2 separate regions of the Homo sapiens genome follow, and region 1 is linked to region 2. The links are contacts of gene promoters, found by promoter capture Hi-C in human tissues and cell types (Jung and others, 2019). All regions are on one chromosome and are shown on one strand. Each heading gives the region's core, a stretch centred on a gene start or on the middle of the fragment in contact. The rest is flanking DNA. Distances are from core to core; before and after follow the strand shown.

What was found. The method cuts DNA at HindIII sites, captures the fragments that hold promoters and counts their contacts. A contact is called where the count stands out against the background at its distance.
Region 1: a contact is called between a fragment that was not itself captured here and the fragment with the promoter of DKK3 in region 2, in 1 of the 25 tissues and cell types used here (IMR-90 fibroblasts).

The regions. Positions count from the first base shown.
Region 1 is chr11:11,825,542-11,831,453 of GRCh38, forward strand. LOC107984311 (a long non-coding RNA gene) reads right to left here. Exons shown (of 4, transcript XR_001748134.3): 3 at 831-961. Among named protein-coding and RNA genes, the nearest start is that of USP47, 13 kb to the right of the region's middle. The HindIII fragment of the contact is 6,108 bases long and covers 1,555-5,912 here.
Region 2 is chr11:12,004,266-12,009,875 of GRCh38, forward strand. It overlaps DKK3 (dickkopf Wnt signaling pathway inhibitor 3), which reads right to left and starts at 4,361. Exons shown (of 7, transcript NM_001018057.2): 1 at 4,105-4,361. The coding sequence starts at 4,317. RefSeq lists an enhancer at 2,613-3,548. The HindIII fragment of the contact is 8,758 bases long and covers 3,000-5,610 here.

The DNA.
Region 1 (5,912 bases), core at 3,359-5,858, 180 kb before region 2:
TCAGATCACCTCAGCCTAGATTTCATTGTCCATATCATTATCAATATTTTTATCAAAGCCATTCAACAAGTCTCTAGGAAGTTCCAGACTTTCCCATATTTTTCTGTCTTCTTCTGAGCCCTCCAAACTCTTCCACCCTCTGCCCGTAATCCAGTTTTAAAGTCGCTTCCACATTTTCAGGTATCTTTTCAGCAACGCCCTCTTCCCGGTACCAATTTACTGTATTAGTTTTCACATTGCTGATAAAAACATACCCGAGACTTGGAAGAAAAAGAGGTTTAATTGGACTTACAGTTCCATATGGCTGGGGAGGCCTCAGAATCATGGCGGGAGGCAAAAGGCACTTCGTACATGGTGGCAGCAAGAGAAAATGAGGAAGATGCAAAAGCAGAAACCCCTGATAAAACCATCAGATCTCATGAGACTTATTCACTACCATGAGAACAGTATGGGCAAAACTGCCCCCATGATTCAAATTTTCTCCCACAAGGTCCCTCCCACAACACGCGGGAATTATGAGAGTACAATTCAAGATGAGATTTGGGTGGGGACACAGAGCCAAATCATATCAGGGCTATACCAAATAGCCTAGGTGTATGGTAGGTTTACTAGGTGTATCATCTAAGCTTGTGTAAGTACACTCCATGATGTTCACATAATGACAAAATTACCTAATCATTTCTCAAAACGTATAGCCATCATTAAAAAAGGCATGTCTGTATATATACACACACAAATATACATGTATACATATGTATGTCCATATGTATATATACATACACATATATATTTACTTGTTACCAATAAAAGAAAAAGAAAAATGTACTAACCTTTTATGTGTGGATTGACATCAGCTCCCCCACTTGGCATGCATGTCTCATGATCTCTTGGTGTACACTGTACCCAGGTCACCTGGGACGAAGTGGTGGAGAGGAGCTCTCACAGCAAAGAGGTGGGGTCACTGAGGGTTCAGTGAGGCAGAGTTATAGATTACATAATCTGGTTTTAACTAATTTGCCCTCAAAAAATAGAAAAGTAACTTTAAAAGATTTTTACAAAAAAAAAACCACTGCAGCATTAAATATATATTAAATATATTAAATATAATGCCAATAATATCAAATGTAGTCAACACTTGATCAGTATGGATTTGAACCACATGGAACCATGTACAGGTGGATTTTCTTCCGCTTTTGCCACTCTGGAAACAGCAAGATCAACCCAACCTCTTCTCTTCCTTGGCCTACTCAAGGTGAAGACGAAGAGGATGAACACCTTAATAATGATCCATTTCCACTTAGTGAACTGTGAATATATTTTCTCTTTGTTATCATTTTCTGAATAACACTTTCTTTTCTATAGCTCTAGTAATAAAGTAATATAGTATGCATGCAGTATATAATACATTTAACATATATAATATGTGTTAATCAACTGCTTATTTATCTGGAAGGCTTCAGTCAACAGTAGGCTATTAGCAGTCAAGTTTTGGGGGACTCAAAAGTTATACCCAAATTTTTGACTGGGGAGGGGAAGGGGGAGCTAAACTCTACCTTGTTCAAGGATCAATTATATTTATGTGGCATTTAGTACAAGCCAGACACTGGCCTAAGTGTTTCATCTCTATTAACTTAGTTAATCCATGCAAAAACCCTGTGAGGAAAGTACTGTTTTAATTCCCATTTTAAACATGAGGAAACTGGGGCGTAGACAGCTTAACGATGTTGCTAGTCAATGGCAGGGCTGCAATGCAACCCAGGCAATTTCTCTCTGGGGTCAGTGGCCTTAACCACAACATGATGCTGCTTGTAAACACAAGGAGACGAGAAAATGGCAGAGCGAACATTCCTCTTCCTCTTGGTACAATACCTCAGCTGCCATCTTAGGAAGCTAAAGCTGTGACAGTGTTGTCAAGTCTGACAAGTGTGTCAGTAAAACAAAGCGTTGTGAAACGATCAAGAAGATATTGAAATATGGATTTGCAATCACTATATTTATTTAGACAGGTTCTTGCTCTGTCACTCAGGCTGGAGTGTAGTGGTGCTCACTGTAGCCTTGACGCCCCGAGTGCAAGCCACCCTCCAACCTCAGCCTCTCAAGTAGTTCGGACTATAGGCACATGCCACCATGCCCAGCTATTTATTTTTATTTTATGTTTTCGTAGAGACAGAAGTCTTCCTATGTTGCCCAGGCTGATCTCCAACACCTGAGCTAGAGCAAGCCTCCCACCTCAGCCTCCCAAAGTGCTGGGATTACAGGTGTGAGCCGTTGCACCTGGCCACCCGTGTCTTTAATGATGAACTTTGCTCTAAGTTGTTAAGTCTCAGGACATTAGCCAACAATAGTAAGACATGTATTGAGTTTATAAATAAATTAATCAATATATATTAGTGATTTATGAAATAAACATCTGGTCAAAAATAATTGGAGAACACTGCCCCCAAAATTAACAGCTAAACAACTTTCTGTGGTAGTCCAGAAGCTTACACTTCAAAATGCTTATTGTAGTTACTTTCTGGAAAATGAGTTTGTGTGTTGAAAACAGTTTTAAGATTCAAATTCCACTTATTACATGTAGACTTAAATAATACTGAATTTTCCCAAACTACTATAAAACATTTTATAAAGACAAAATTTATTTCTAATAGATTTCTCTACTAATAACCAAAAAATGTGTAAGTTCTCAGCATGACATTTGTAATTCTCTTCTCCAGGATTCCCGCGTTGCTTTTGCCTGCCAGGAATGTCTTCACACTTGTGTGTCTATTGGGACGATCAGCACTCAGTTTAGTCTTGGCCATTACATGAAGCATACGACCCATACTGGGCCAATCATAGGTAAAGGGGACCTTTTTTTCTCTCTCTCAAACATTTGACCAATCATCTTGAGGTTCAATTGTCATGTTCACATATAATCCATTTCTCTACACTCAGGTTTATATGTGCACATCTATTATTCTATCTTTCCATCATGCTTGTTTGTTTTAGTCATAGCTAGGGCTTCTGTGTGTGATTGTTCAAGCTGTGCAATGCACGCAGATGCCTGGCTAAGGGTGAGTGAAGGTTCAAGTCTAGCCCAAGCTGTGCTCAAACAGCTGTGAGTTCTGGAGTGCCTTCCCCAATTTTCATGTTGGCTAGCGCTGTTCTAACTAAATTGTGAGCTTCCTGAGAGTAGAGAACATTCTTAGTCGTCTGTTTGACATAGTTCCTGGCAACACGCCTTGTCAGAAGACTCTTAATAAATATCTGTTGAATTGAATTTCAGAGTACATTTTCCGACATAAATTCTGACATGCTCCATCATTTTTAATCTCCTTTATTCAATTATGCAGGCAATAAGTCACCAAACTGACTTTATGCTCTCTTAAGCATCTATCACAATGTCAAACACCTTAGAGATATTTAATGGAGATTAATGTATTATGATAAATGACTATTGCTCATTTTCTGTTCTTTCCATCACATTTTCTGATCTATTTTTATGGTCTACCTTCTAAATTTTATTTATTATATTTTATCTTCCAAAGAATCTTGTATGATTGTAGTGCTCACACACATAATAAATTTTGAAGTTTTTGTGGTTAAATCAACTGAGACTTTGAGTCTGGCTAGGAATTTATGATTCCTCATAAGCAACAGGGCCATGTATACGACAAGAATCCAATCTAAGTGTTGATTATGGGCAACAATGGTGATGATAATTAGGTTTAAAAGCCTATGCTCTGCCAACACATTAGAAAATTAGATAACATTTCTGAAATATTTTTAAACAAAAGATGACCTAATTATCTGTACCTGTAGAAAATTTTATCAACAGTTAGCATCTAAGTATCATTTTCAATTTTTTCTACCAGAGGACTCATGTAAAAAGATAAGATGATACTCCTTTACTTGCATGTTTTGGTCCATGAAAGACTTTGACAAGTTTAGGTGGCATTATGCAAAAACACTACCTGCTCTATCAGATGAAGACAGAGGAAGAAGAAAGGGATAGCAACTGCTAATTACCTTCTTAAAGAAAATGTTCAGCCGGGCGCAGTGGCTCATGCCTGTAATCCCAGCACTTTGGGAGGCCAAGGCGGGTGGATCACCTGAGGTTGGGAGTTCAAGACTAGTCTGACCAACATGGAGAAACCCCGTCTCTACCAAAAATACAAAATTAGCTGGGTGTGGTGGCGCATGCCTGTAATCCCAGCTACTAGGGAGGCTGAGGCAGGAGAATCGCCTGAACCCGGGAGGCGGAGGTTGCAGTGAGCTGAGATCACGCCATTGCCCTCCAGCCTGGACAACAAGAGCAAAACTCTGTCTCAAAAAAAAAAAGAAAGAAAGAAAATGTTCACTTTTAGGGAAGGAGATTGTTAGTCTTCCAGAAAAGAAACTACAAGAATTAAACAATTAGATCTCTTAAAAAATGATGAGGAAGTGGGATCATTTAGTCTAGTGAAAATCACCAAACAATTAGATGAGTAGAAACATTTAAAATTTAAAGAATCAAGCTACAGAGCCCATTGGCTAAAATTTTTAAAGAAAGATCTAGAGATTTCAGATCGTCCAACTCTGCTAAAGAGTGAAAATGATTAGCCATTACTTTCTTCCACTGTAGGTAGATTGCAGTTACCACATAACGAACCAGAAGGTTTAAAGATTGTATCTGTAGAAGCAACTGAGGCTTCACCTATGATGAAAGACTTTGGAGTCAGACTGCTTAGGTTTAAATCCCAGTTCCATTATTTATCTATTTGCCTTATGACTTTGGAAGTTACTTAACTTCTCTATTCCTGTTTCCTTGTCTGTAAAATTAGGATAATAATTGTTCCCAAATCATAAAGTTGTTATGGGGAGTAATAAGATAGAGTGTGTAAAATACTCCATACAGAGCCTGGACCATAGTTAAGAGTAAGTACTCTACAAAAACTTGTGTTTGTCATTAGAGATACAATAAAAAGTTATGAACCAAAGTGGCCAGTAAAAAAAATGAAAGTTTTTATATACTGAGCATCTATAATGTGTCAGTCATTATGTTAACCAGTTTTCATACATTATTTCTTTTAATTTGTTGTCTTCGAATTATTTTAAAAGAATTAAAAGAACACAGTATGATTTAATGTGAAAACGAAAAAGAGAAGATTCCAGCTGGGCACGGTGACTCACGCCTGTAATCCCAGCACTTTGGGAGGCCTAGGCAGTTGAATCACGTGAGGTCAGGAGTTCGAGACCAGCCTGGCCAACATGGTGAAACCCCGTCTCTACTAAAAATACAAAACTTAGCCAGGCGTGGTGGCATGTGCCTGTAATCCCAGTTACTCAGGAGGCTGCGGCAGGAGAATCACTTAAACCTGGGAGGTGGAGGTTGCAGTTAGCCGAGATCACACCACTGCACTCTGGCCTGGGTGACAGAGTGAGACTCTGGCTGAAAAAAAAAAAACAAAAAAAAGAAAAAAAAAAAAGAAAGAAAAAGAGAAGATTCTAACTAACTCTTTACTTCCACCGACATTGAGAACTTCCATTCCAGTGACTTAGAGATAATTACTACAAACTTTTCTGAGGAGAGGAGGAAGGGGGAGGAGCATATTCTTCTAGAGATTTCTATGCTTATACTGGTGTACATATTTATAACACCATCTTTCAGTACACAAATGCCATACATACAATCCTGCAAGTTTCTTTTTCTTATTTGTTATATCTTGATCTTCTATCTCACCTTTTTTAAATAAACTTTTCATTTTTGCATAATTTTGGATTTACAGTAGAGTTGCATATTAACATTTTACATAATCAAGGTGTGTCCGGAGTTGGTTCCTTCTGGTGAATTCTTGGTCTCGCTGACTTCACAAATGAAGCCATGGACCTTCACGGTGACTGTTACAGCTTTTAAAGGTGGCACAGTCCCAAAGAGTGAGCAGCAGCCAGAT
Region 2 (5,610 bases), core at 3,111-5,610:
CCTCCCCTCCCTCTGATCCCCAGTTAAGAATCTCCGTTCCAGGCAATAGGGAACTACAGCAAGTTCCAGAAGGCTAGCGGGAAATAATATAAAGAGTAGATCAGAAAGAGAGGGGAGTCAGGAAACTGGCTAGAATTAGGTCTAGGAGATGGGAGCTACTTCTGGGTAGGGACCTTCTAGGTGGGAAAGACTCTAAGTAAGTCTAGAAGGATCAAGCCACTGAGAGATGGCCACTGGATGAGTCAAGTCATTGCCTGCAGCATCCTCGGAGAGGAACACAGTGGAAAGTACCAGGATTCTGGAGTCAGACAAGGTGGGTTCAAGTCCTGGCTCTGCCACAAAGTAGCTGTATGACTTTAGGCAAGATACCAAATCCCACTAAACCTCAGCTTGCTCATTTGTAAAATAGGGATGTCCTACTTTGTTGAGTAGATATAAGAATTAAGGACCATGCAGTAGATATAAGAATTAAGGCATGAAATACACTATCTGCCACACAGCAAAGATGAAATACACAGCTGTTTTTATCCCGTTGCCCTTTAAGAAGGCAGTTTCAAAAGAAGCCAGTTTGTTTTGCCAGAGTTCTGAAGGGAATGGGTAGCTAGAAGCAGGAAGAGCAAACGTTGATATCATGTGTTTGAAGAGCTTGCCAACAAAGGGGAGAAGAAATGGGGCTGAGATAGAAGACAGAATGGGCAAGAAAATGACTTTCCTTAAAAGCAAGAGACCTTGCCCTCAGTTACCACTCTGGTTAGTGATAGAAAAAAACGCAGCTGGGAAGAGAAGACTGAAGGTGCTGGAGAGGACCCACCCAGAAGAAGAGAATGTTTTAGTGTTTTTAAAATTCCCATCGGGATCAGTTTGGCTTTCAAATAATTGACAAGTTGCCAAACCTAGAATTTGCTCTGGGCTGAGCAGATAGTCTTTTTATAAAACTTTTCCCCCCAGCTCAGCCACTGGTTATTTCAACAGAATGAGCTAACGGTTCTTAAATGGCACCATGAACTAAAAGTATAGTTTACAATGGAAATTTCAACCGCAACTATTATTGCCACTAGCAAGAGAAACTTAAGTCTGAAGCAAAAGGAGCTGTTTCGTAGAGGAGGAATGTGAATGCTATTAAAAATGGCACTTATACTAGAAATAGGTGAGGCAGTAAGAACATTCTAAAATGAGTGAGTTACAGAGCTGGCCATGAGGGGAAGAGAAACAGAGTGGTTATATCTTCAGAATACATTGATTGGTAGCATATAGAATAGTAACACAGGAAAGTAGGAATATCCCAGATTGAAGCCATTTGAAGATATGCTTCTTCCAATAATGACCGTACAAGTAGAGCTGCTTTGTCCTTCCCCTTAAGAAACTTCAACAGCTTGATTCAGCTGGAACATTGAAAATGCCAGGAAGTTACTTGAAAGGAGATTCATGATGCAACTATGTAAACAAATAATGCATCTGGCCCAGGTCCTTTTTGATTTTTCCCCTGAACAATGACTAAATACCAATTATCCTGTGTCTATGAGATTTAAGGGGCATTCTGGCAGTCTCCATAAAAAGTTAATACTAATAACCACAGTCTATAAACAATCTATTGTATTCTATTTTTGAAGATATCTAAAAGATACTTTTAGTATTTTAAGATTAATTTTTAATGGTTTAAGATATTTTAAAAGATAGATTCTATTGAGAATCTATCAGACACTGGTGGTGTTTTGTTATCATTCATACTGCTACTAGTAATATGATGATAATGATACCTGTTACTTATTTACAACCAACCATCATGTCATCCTTACAGCCACCTCACAATGAAGCTACCTGTATTACACGTGTTTTACTTAACCCCATTTTAGGCAGTCAGCGGATGGCCTGCCCTAGAACCACAGGCATCACAAGCTCAATTTAATGTGAAGCTGCAGAATTAAGAGACATTGGGGCCTATATGACTCCCTTCACCCTTTAATTGTTCCATGTCATGATAGTTTCACAATCACAGGAAACAAAGATCATGGATCTTGGGCTCTTGACCTGACCAGTGGATATTCAGGGATAGCTGCCCAACTCACTGATTTGCTTTACTTGCAGCATCTCATTTAATTCTCACCTTACCCTAAGAGGTGGACATTTCTCCACTTCAGACTCGGAACGCCACTGCCAGTAAGTGGCAGAGCAGGGACTGGATGAGGGAAGATCAGTCCCCACTGCCTCTTCTCCTGCCATGGTGTTCAACCTCTCTCATCCTGTACCCACTGCCAGCGAGGACACCTCTGGGAAAGAGTGGGGTAGAAGTGACAGCCCACATCTCCTCTGGTGGCAAACTTCAACCCCCCAACCTACACAGAGCCACATCTAGAGGGAGGAAAGCTGGGGTCTTGGCAAAATCCAGTCTGGATAACGCCCATGGAGAAGACCCCGTCACTAGGTCCTGCAGGGCCCCACACTGCTCTGCTCAAGAAGAGACTGAAGAGGCCCTTGCTGCTCTCTCTCCTCCCTCAGCAGAAGCTAACGTCAGAGGACCACGCTGCAGACTTTCTGAACAGTGGTGGGCACAAAAACATAGAGGTGACTTAGTCAGTCTTACCGGGAATCTGTGTGCAGGAGGGAAAGTCCTAGAACCTGGATAAGGAAAGCAGATGGCCTGCCCTAGAACCAGAGGCATCGCAAACTCCACTTAATTTGAAGCTTCAGAGTTAAGAGACATTGGGGCCTATCTGAATCCCTTCACCCTTTAATTGCTCCATGTCATGATTGTTTTGCAATCACAGGAAACAGAAAGATCATGGGTCTTGGGATCTGGGCCTGTCCAGTGGATATTCAAGGACAGCTGCCCATTTCACTGCCTCCCAAGCCAGTGTCCCCTTCACTGCAAACTCCACAGGCTAACTGTTGTGGAGTGGGAGGGGAAATAGCCCCAAACTACAAAGGGCTGCGGGGAGAAAGCAACTTCCCCCTGGAGACAAGGGCCAGCAGTTAAGGCTTTGCCCAAGGGGGATACCAAGCTGGAGACAGCAGGGATGTGAAGCCAGACCAGGGGCCAACCAGCCTGGACATTGGTTTCCTGCTGCCTCCTTCACTAGGACGGCTGGCTCCTCTCTATAGACACAGGCTACAGACAGATTGGGCCCAACAGCGCCCTCGTCTACCCACCCCAGGCACCAGGGACAGCTCCCCGCACCTGGACAGAGAGGGCTGGGCCAGTGACATCTCCTGCCCAGGTAGCCCTGGGCATGCGTGGGTGACCATCACAGAGGACAGAACAAGATGCCACCCACAGTGTTTAGACCTGGAGGTGATGGAGGGCAGAAGCTAGGCAAAGCTTTGCTAAGGTACGTGGTATCTGATAATAGTTGCTAAATACTGCGCACCTATTATTTGCCAGGTGCCCACACATATGACATTTAGTTTTCACAGGAAACTGAGGTGCAGGATATTAAGTGATTTGCCCAATGTCACCCTGCTACTGAGTGGCAGAGGAGGACCTGAGCCCAGGACAACTGCGAAGCACCGTTGGGTGGAGGGGGTATTGCCTCTCACATCCTCATCCGCCACTCATACAGTGCTGAGATTTAGGATTTCCATCTTCCCTCTCTGCCCCCACATTGCGTGAGAAGCAAGACAGCCCAGACAGACTGCCAGCAAAGCTCAGGGCTCTTTGCCTCTTTGTCCCTGCATGGCATCCTAACAAGCTCAAAGCATAACGGACAAGCTAGAACTTGGCGATGCCTGGAGCTTGTCCCGGGTTTCTGTGAAACCACAGTGCTGGAATACCAGGGGCCCTGCAAACCTCTGCTGACAATAGGGAAGGCCAACGGCATGCCTGACGCCAACTGCAGGCAGGTGGTGGCCCCAGCTACCTAGGGAGGGTCCAGTGCAGAGCCTCTCGGTGGACAGGCTCAGATCCAGACTTTTTGGCAAGGAGGCAAAACGAGGCGGGAGTAGGGATCACCGTGCGCTGCCTCCAGGTCACTCCGCATCTGCTGTCGGCCCTTCCCAGGCCCTGCGCGGGACCCGAGGTCCCTGGCCAGCGCTCTTCCATGCCTTCCCAGACTTCGCTGCCCCCAGTCTGGCGCTTCTCAGAGCCCCGCGCCGCCAGGGCGCACCCACCTCTTCCACCGCGCTGCGCAATTTGTGCTGCGTGTCCTCCATCAGTTCCTCAACCTCGCGGAACATCTCATTGAGGGTGGCCTCCTCCTGCGGGTAGCTGAGAGCCGGGCCGGGCTTGACTGGAGCCGAGGTCGCCGTCGGAGCGGGCGCGGGGGCCGTGGGGACCGCCGCCGCCAGCAGCAGGCACAGCAGGGTGGCCCCAAGCCGCTGCATCTCCGCTCTGCGCCCGCAGCCGCCGCCTGTGTGTCCCGGAACGCGATCAGAGGCGCGCGGACCACCCCCCTCGCTGGGCCCGCCGCCCCGCCCCGTTCCGCCCCGCCGCCCGCCCCTGGCGCCCCTCTTTCCCGCACCCGCCCGGAGACGGGAGGAAACCGAGGCCCCTGAAAACGCAGCTCCCCTACACCCGAAAAGACGCGACCCCACCCGCTCCAGCCCGAGCCCCGATCGCCCCAGGACCCCGCACCCCCATCCTCGAGCACAAGCTGAGCTCTGCTCCTCACCTGTGATGCTGGAGCCCTCGCCAGAGCAACCGAACCCGGATCCTCTACGCTAATAGCTCCCAAGCCCCAGCTCACCTAGACTCTGTCCCCGGTTCAAACCCTAGCCCCTCCTCGACCAGGTCAGAGTGCCCGACCCCCACTTCCACCTCAAGCCTCTCTCAGCCCCTACCTGGGGTGGACCAAGCACAGGTCAGCCCCCTCCCCTTGGCGTCGGGTCCTACTCGAGCGCCCCGCCCCACATCCACCAAGAGAGGCTGAGCTCAGCAGAGTCGTCCCCTCCCCCGCCGCCGCCCCTCACCCACCCCGACTGGACCGAGTTGCGCTGCGGGCCGGACTGGATCTGCTCGCTCCCGCCGGGAGGCCGCCGGGCTGCGGGTGCAGATGCGGGAGCGGCGCGGTGGGCGGGCCGCGGGTGCGGGAGCGCGGCGGGGTGCGGCAGCGCCGGTACCCGAGGGAGCCCGCAAGACGCGCCCCGCCCGCCCACCAGGCTCCCTCTCCGCCCCCGCCCCGAGCCCCGCCCGCCCACCAGGCCCACCCCGCCCCGCGGAGGGGCCGCAGCCCGGCCATTGGCCAGCCGGGGCGCCGGCCACCTCACGCCCCACGCCCCACGCCCTCCTCTTCTGCCTCAGCGACCAGCTCTACCGAAGGCAGCCATCTCCTTCACTGCCTGCCCCTGCGCCCGCGGCATCCCAGGCCCGTCTTCTCTGGCCTCCAGGCTTGCAACAGCCCACCGAGGTTGGGGGTAGGGGGAATGTTCCTCAGTCCCACCTTGGTCTTTCCAAGCCAACCTCTGTCCTGTGAAATCCTCAGGAAAAATCCCAGCCCCCAGCCTGGCATTCAAGCCATCACCGCTGGCCTTAGTCTGCCGTGATTGACACCGTGCTCCAGCCAGGATAACGCACTTGCAGCTCCTGGAATGGGAGAACGTCATGAGAAAGTCAGCAAGCTCCTCAAGGGTGGCATAGAGGAGTGGTCAGGACCAGACACCTGCAGCCAGCTCTGCTCC